Regions from separate parts of the Homo sapiens genome. Here region 1 is linked to region 2. Evidence: promoter capture Hi-C in 16 types of primary human blood cells and fetal thymus (Javierre and others, 2016). All regions are on one chromosome and are shown on one strand. Each heading gives the region's core, a stretch centred on a gene start or on the middle of the fragment in contact. The rest is flanking DNA. Distances are from core to core; before and after follow the strand shown.

Evidence for each region. The method cuts DNA at HindIII sites, captures the fragments that hold promoters and counts their contacts. A CHiCAGO score of 5 or more calls a contact.
Region 1: a fragment that was not itself captured here is called in contact with the fragment with the promoter of SERPINC1 in region 2 in 1 of 17 cell types (neutrophils); the score reaches 5.4 in neutrophils.

The regions. Positions count from the first base shown.
Region 1 is chr1:174,769,915-174,773,840 of GRCh38, forward strand. All of the region lies in intron 18 of RABGAP1L (RAB GTPase activating protein 1 like), which reads left to right. Among named protein-coding and RNA genes, the nearest start is that of RABGAP1L-AS1, 180 kb to the right of the region's middle. The HindIII fragment of the contact is 3,621 bases long and covers 751-3,926 here.
Region 2 is chr1:173,915,163-173,919,198 of GRCh38, forward strand. SERPINC1 (serpin family C member 1) reads right to left here and starts at 2,165. Exons shown (of 7, transcript NM_000488.4): 1 at 2,057-2,165. The coding sequence starts at 2,097. LOC124904457 (a long non-coding RNA gene) reads left to right here and starts at 1,338. Exons shown (of 2, transcript XR_007066739.1): 1 at 1,338-1,778. The HindIII fragment of the contact is 6,307 bases long and covers 46-4,036 here.

The DNA of each region.
Region 1 (3,926 bases), core at 1,311-3,810, 860 kb after region 2:
GTCTTTGATGTACCAACTTGGGTTAAAAGTTCTTGTTTCTGTGTTTGAAGATAGTGACTTAAGGAAGAACTGAAGTTGGGAATGTAGTTTCTGTAGTTAATATTCATGTTACAAAAATAGAAGTCTAAACACCTGAAAAAAAGAATGAAACAACTCATAAACTTTTTTTTTGGATTTGCAATGATTTTGTACATTCCATTAGTTTTGTAACTTTCATGAAGGAATGCCTATTGTCCTGTTGGTGGCAGTAAAACACCACTCCTGGATCATTTGTTACTTGAATATTTCATTTGTTTGTTTTTAACTTTCTCTAGTGCATCTTCAGTTTGATGATAGGTTAGTTTCAAGATGCTATCTAGTAAATGCTAAAACAAACCAACAAACACAAATACTGGGCTTCTAATTAGGATACTCAAGGAATTTTAAAGTTTTAAAGTTTCAGAAATAATACATTTTATGAAACAGGGATCTGTATCAGGAAAAAATGTATATCATCACAGTACCATGCACATATTATATAATACCTTAAATTTGTTGAAGCAATTTCTCATTACTTATTTCTCATGAAACAATCCAAAATATCAAGAAGGGAAGACAGTTGAATAAACACACCATTTCCAAGTAGTCAGTGATTAAATTGAACTTAATGTACCCTAAGAAATACAAGCTCCCTTGACAGAGAACAAACAGAACAAAAAAATCCAGTTTCCTCCTTGTTCTATTTTTGTGAGCAAAATAAGTACTCATTTAAGCTTCCATCCCTTTTACTTAAAAATCCCTCTCTGTCTTCATCCTCTTCTGCTTTGCTCTTGTCTTTAATGAAGGTCTGTTCTGCCCCCATTCCAAGGCTAACTTCCTCACTATGTCCTTGATCCCATCTTTCCTGTCTCTCTTTGGAGAAGCCTGTGATGGTTAGTTAGTTCACTTATTCAACAGATATTCACTATTGACAGTCCCTGGGTTAGATGTCAGGGGATACAGAGATGACATTCTGTGTCCTGAAGTTGTCACATCTAATAGGGGAGGCACACAGACATAAGAATTCAGTGTGTTTGATCCTGGGGTTTAAAAGGGATCTTTGGGAGCCTAAAGGCAGAATGCCAAATTCATTCTGGGAAACTAGTAAACATTTTCCAAAGGTGGCATCTAACCTGAGAATAGGACATGAGGGTGAGAGTGAACAGCATGTAGAAGAGGAATGAGGAAGAATGGCTGAGGCAAGTCCTTTGCCATGGCACATTTGAGGGGGATGCGCAGGATACGATTCTGAGGGGCTTTAATTACATTTCTGCCATCAATTTATTGTGGAATTTTAATCAAATCATCTAACCTTTTAACACTTAATTTCCTAACTTATAAAATAAAGAGACAGGGAAGCATGCTCTAAATTTATGTCATGCCAGCTGTGTCAATCTGTGCTATAGGTGTGTGTATATGTGTGTATGTTTGTATGTCTTATATAACCATTTCAGTCCTTTAATGAGTAGATAAGAATCTTTGTATAATTTGCATGTTTGTTGTTTAAGTGCTTGGCTAAATTTATCTTTGCCTCTTTTACAAAAAAAAAAGTGTTTACAGAACAATATAATAAAATTAGGAGCAAAGGAATATTTTATTTGTTATACTTCAAGATGAATACCACCAAAATGTTTTCATTTCAACTTAAAAATCTCTTTATAACCATACTTGAATATAAACAACCCATTTGTTCTACATTAGTGAAATGTTAGTGTGTGTATTTTCTAGCACTCACACCTCTGCACTGTGATCATTCTATCAGGTATTTCTAGATATCCAAGCAATGTGTTGGATCTATGTAAAAAAAATCTGACAGCTACCATCAATAACAATATAATTGTGTAGCATTTAAACAGTTTGTAATGAGCTCTCAAATGCATTTTTTAAATGTTTAATAAATAAAATTAATAGTAAGACACCTATCATTTATTGAGCACTTAAAATGTATCTGATGCTGTGCTAAGCACTTTAAAACTAATCTTCACGGCCGGGCACATTGGCCCACGCCTATAATCCCAGCACTTTGGAAGGCCGAGGCAGGTGGATCACGAGGTCAGAAGTTCAAGACCAGCCTGGCCAAGATGGTGAAACCCCATCTCTACTAAAAATACAAAAAATTAGCCGGGCCTGGTGGTGGGTGCCTGTAATCCCAGCTACTCGAGAGGCTGAGGCAAAGAATTGCTTGAAGCCGGGAGGCAGAGGTTGCAGTGAGCTGAGATCACGCCACTGCACTACAGCCTGGACGACAGAGTCAGACTGTCTCAAAAAAAAACAAAAAACAAAACAAAAAAAAATAACTAATCTTCACTACCTTTAATTTTGTTTATTGTAGTATAATATACGTAACATAAAATGTACAATTTTGGTCAGGGCAGTGGCTCAGGCCTGTAATCCCAGCACTTTGGGAGGCCAAGGTGGGTGGATCACCTGAGGTCAGGAGTTCGAGATCACCCTGGCCAACATGGAGAAACCCCATTTCTACTAAAAATACAAAATTAGCGGGTGTTGTGGCGTGTGCCTGGCTACTCAGGAGACTGAGATGGGAGAATCGCTTGAACCCGGGAGGCGGAGCTTGTGGTGAGCTGAGATCGCACCACTGCACTCCAGCCTGGGCAACAGAGCAAGACTCCATCTCAAAAAAAAAAAAAAAAAAAAAAAAAGTACAGTTTTAACCATTCCTAAGTACACAGTTCAGTGACATTAGGTAAATTGACATTGTTGTGCAACTATCACCACCATCCATCTCCAGATCTTTTTTTCATCTTGCAAAACTGAAACTCTTGCACCTGTTAAATAGTAACTCCCCATTCCTTTCTCCCCTTAGCCCCTGGCAGTCACCATTCTGCTTTCTGTCTCTATGAATTTGGCTACTCTAGGTACCTCATGTAAGTGGAATTATATCGTATTTGTCTTATCTCTGGCATATTTCACTTAGCATAGTGTATGACCCTTAATTTTTTTACTGACATTAATTAAAAGAAATCCTAATTTTAACAATAATTCTATTACTGTTAATATTGTATTACTATTTTATCAGTGATTCTATTACTGTTAATACTGTATTGACTTGTTGGTATGAATCAATATGCTCATTTTACAGATTAGGAAACTAAGACTTATAAAAAGTTAAAAAACTTGGTTAAAGTCATTCAGTTAGGCAAATGACATACCACAATCACAACTAGGCCTGTCTTACTACAGAGGCAGTGTTCTTAACTTCTAAGCTATGGGGTGTGTGTGTGTGTGTGTGTTTATTTTAAACCTTACAATTGCTCTGTGAACAAGAGATTATATCCTACTTGATACTCAAATCCCAGGCATGGCGACATATGCCTGTAATCCTAGCTACTTGGAAGGCTAAGGTGGAAAGATCACTTGAGCCCATGAGTGCAAGACTAATCTGAACAACATAGTGAGACCCGTTATCTAAAAAGTAATAAACAAATAAATAAATAAAAGCCAGGTGGCTCTCACTAAAAATTCCATGCCTTTTTACGTTATACAGCAGGAGACCCTTAAATTATAGTGAAATCAGTCTCCATTCCACAAATCTATGTTGACATCATACTATGAGTGAAAACAGGTTTTTTAATTCAAGTTGTTTGAATTAAGCATATTCTATTGTATGTTCAAAGATAGTTGTCCCAATTTAAAAATGTCCTTGGTTGAATAGGATAGAAGCAGAGCCAGAGCAACCAAGAGCCATTGCTATATGAACAAATAATTGAATTTAGGCTAATGAAAATGAACTCACTGTCAAAAATCATCATGAAATTAAAATATTCTCTGCTCTTGACTGGCTGGAATAATATTTGATTCCTGAGTTCTGCCTTTCCACTTATTCTGTCATAATCTTTGAGATATATGAAGTCATCCCTGAATACTGTTTAATGCTCTGGTTAAACTCC
Region 2 (4,036 bases), core at 915-3,414:
GTATTATGTGCTCAATTCCCCACGCTGGGAGAAAAAAGAATGAGAAGCTTCCTGTTTGTGACATGGAATGTGCATGCCTAAAAAATCGGCTTTAGTGCCCAGTGAAGAGTCAGGGTGGTAGGGGGAGCCATCTACAGAAACTGTTTGGGGAAGGACTCTGATAGATGCAGCAGAGAGATTTCAGCAACACAAGAGAAGTAAGAAGAAATGGATGGAGCAAAGGCAATATCTGGCCGGGTGCGGTGGCTCACGCCTGTAATCCCAGCACTTTGGGAGGCTGAGGCATGCAGATCACTTGAGGTTGGGTGTTCGAGATCAGCCTGGACAACATGGTGAAACCCTGTCTCTACTAAAAATACAAAAATTAGCTGGGTGTGGTGGCGCACACCTGTAGTCCCAAGCTACTAGGGAGGCTGAGGCAGAAGAATCACTTGAACCCAGGAGGCGAAGGTTGCAGTGAGCTGAGATTGTGCCACTGCACTCCAACCTGGGTGACAAAGTGAGACTGTGTCTCAAAACAGCAACAACAAACAAACAAACAAACAAAAACAATGGCAATATCTGTGTGCTGAAGATTCCTACATCTCTAGCTCCAGCCCTAACCCTTCCACTGAGCTCCAGACTGACTATTTGCTGGACAGTTCCACCAGGAACTCCTACAAGTTCTTCAGGGAAACAGGACCAAACTGAACTGGTAATTAATTCTCCCCCACAGGCCTGCTCCTGTGAGTGGGCTCAGTGAATCCCGTACAGAAACCTGAGAATCACCCTGGATTCCTCCCTCTCTCCTCCTCATTTAGTCAAACCCCAGAGTCAATCAGTTCACCCCAGAGTCAATCAGTTCTGTTTTTTTACTCTTTCACCAGTTATTGCCACTGCTTTAGTTCAGGCTCTCATCCCTTTTTATTGCCTGGAATTTTTAATAGTCGCCAACATGGATTCAATGAAGGTAAATGAAGCTAATTTCACATTTTAAAAAAATGAGGTAGTTGGGACACTCGATGAAGCAAATCAAGAGATAAAGTCTCTTGTAATATTTTTTGTAGATAAGACAGGGTGGGGCAGGGGCTGCCTCCAGCTGGTTTATGGTTCCTGCGTGTACACAAGGGGGTCTGTGTGTGGGTACTGGATCTTCCCATCTTCTCCTGGGAGAGAAAGACAGGCACCCAGTGCAGATTCACGGACGTGGTCCGTTGGGCAAGCCTGGGGCTGGCTGGAAGCTGGGGCAGCTGAGGGGGACTTGCCTTCTTGCGTGGTCTGAGTCCAGTTCTGCAGCCCTTTCAAGAACAGAGGTGCAAAGCCGGAGAGAAGCAGCGGCACCAAGGGAGATGTGGAAGGCAGGCTGAAGAAGCAGAGAGAGAGAGGAGAGGACCCTGCCATTCATCTTCCCATCTCCACTGCCTTCGGTTGCCCACTCTGTCCTTCAACTACATTTGGAAATGCAATTTGAGGCTGAGAGGACCCTGGGAGGGCTATGAAGCACAAATTAAAACCAAGACAGTTGTGCCACCACCCCGTTTCTAGCCTCCTGTGACAACTCAGATGAAGAAGGGAGTGTGTGTGGCATTGAGGGAGGGACAACTCTCATTGTGAGAAAAGGAAGCAGTTTTGGCCCTTTAGTCAAAGGTCACTGGGATTTGGGTGGGGGTGGAGTGGGGTGGATCTGAGTGGAAGAAAGAGCAAAAAGGGAGTGAGGAGGTCCTCATGGGTAGCATTTGCTCTCTTCCCGGATGGATGGCAGGCCCTGGGGATTCCCCTTGGAGCGTCCCCTGGATCCCGTGAGTGCTGACTTCCTGCACAGCATCTTTACACCAGGGATGACATCCCCCTTGTTTCTTAGGCTAGGGACCCAAGGGGTAGCTTAGGAAAGGCCTTACCCCAAGAGGTGGGGTGGGAGGGAGAGCACTTGAAATGACGTCTTCCAAACAGGTCTTTGACTGTAACTACCAGGGAGAGGGCCTGGTCTTCTCAAAGGTGTTGGAGGTCATTCCTGTGAGTCCTTTGGAGGTCACAAAACCCAGTAGGGGCAGGCAAGGGGAAAGCTCACCCCTCTTACCTTTTTCCAGAGGTTACAGTTCCTATCACATTGGAATACATGGCCGCTAATCTTCCACAGGGCTGGGCAAGTGGAGATAGTGTGATCTGAGGCAATCCGCCTGAAAACTGGTTCTTTCCTCTAAATCTCGCAGAGGTTCCAGAGGACAGGGTGGGGCAGAGAGCTGGTCAGGAGGGGGAACTGAGGTCAAAGGCTGATGACCAGTTCCCAGGGTTAAGCAAAGTGTAGAGCCCAGTGTTGTTTAATTAGTAGAGAAGTTTTAAAGTTCAATCAGGCCCAGGGAAAGCCTGAGCCACCTCTCTTGCCCACACTCCCTCACTCTTCTCCTCAGCTTTATAGAAAAGGAAAAGGAGAGTATGTTCATACCCTCAAACTTGGTTAGGAAACTAACCAAGGAAACAAACTTGGTTCATACCCACCCTCTCTCATAGTTTTCTTTATGGAGAGAGGGAGAGAGAGAGAGAAATATCTAATTAGAGAAGGCAAAGAGGGACAAGCTGCTACCTTCAGGCATCTGAGTGCCAAGGTGTCCCTGGCACAGACAAGGAAAACACAATGGTTACACCTGTGGCCCACAGAGAGACCCATTCCCCAGCAGCCCTGAAGTGGTGGGACAGGGAGAGAAGAGCAGGGCCTCGGGGTGCATGCCAAGCGCGTTTCTAAGGGGTGTGAGCAGCTGGGAAATACTTAGCAAAACTCTACTGGGGGATCAGGAGACAGAATGCGGGGCAGGTGAAAAACCCACGTACAACTGCTGAAATAAAAACAAACTAAATTATATTTATGTGTATCGTTATTTTTATTAGTTATTGGGGAGATTGGGTAAATTCAAACTAGTGGAGATAAAGGGCAGGTTTGTTTACATTTCCCTCTTCTGAAATAGCCAAAAGCACCATCACAAGGACTGCAGCCACCAAGTTCACAGGGCGCATGTGCCTCCTGCTGTGTGATCAAGGACTCCTTGTAGTTGTTGTTGCAGTCATAGGCATTTTCGAGAGCTCTTCGTTCATGAGAGAGGACATCTCTCCTGAACTGAAGCTGTGTCTAAGTTCTTGGCTGATTCAGACCCTGGATCCTTTGAAGCCCTCCATGTGCAGTGTGAACAGTAGCCGAGAACTGTCCCAAAGGGCCCCAGAATGCCCAGAGGCTCATCTGTCACCCTAGATTAAAGACTATTGAAAAGTCTCCTGTTCAACCACTTGAGTTCAACAAATACACGAGTGCTGCTTGTGCCAGCAGACACTGTTCTTGGGGCTGGGATTCCATTCGGGGGAGACATACAGCAATCACATAAAGAATCAGTATTTTAGGCCAAGCGTGGTGGCTCACACCTGTAATCCCAGCACTTTGGTAGGCTGAGGCAGGTGGATCACCTGAGGTCAGGAGTTCGAGACCGGCCTAGCCAACCTGGTGAAACCCCATCTCTACTAAAAATACAAAAAATAGCTGGGCATGGTGGTGGGCACCTGTAATTCCAGCTACTCAGGAGGCTGAGGCAGGAGAATCACTTGACCCCAGGAGGCAGAGGTTGCAGTGAGCCGAGATCGTGCTATTGCACTCCAGCCTGGGTGACAGAGCAAGACTCCATCTCAAAAAAAAAAAATCAGTATTTAAAAAATAAATATGTAACGTGCCAGTCAGATGTTAATAAGGTCCATAGAGAAAACTATAGCAGGGCAAGGATATAGGAAGCAGTGGGAGGAAGTGGGGAGGGCACCATCTGAGAACACTTGGTAGGAAAGGCCTCCCTTAGGAATCATTGTTAGGAAACCAGAATGAAATGATGGAGGGGGCCATATGAATATCTTTAGGAAGAGCTGTCCAAAGAGAAATCAGAAATACAAAGACCTTGAGGTTTCAGGAACATGCTGTTGAGACCTATTGTTCCAGCTTATAGGAGTTATGAGGTTTGTGTCTTGCCAAGAAGGTCCTTGGGGGAGGGCAGATGAGGGGCCCTGCAAAAATATAGGTGATTTGGTG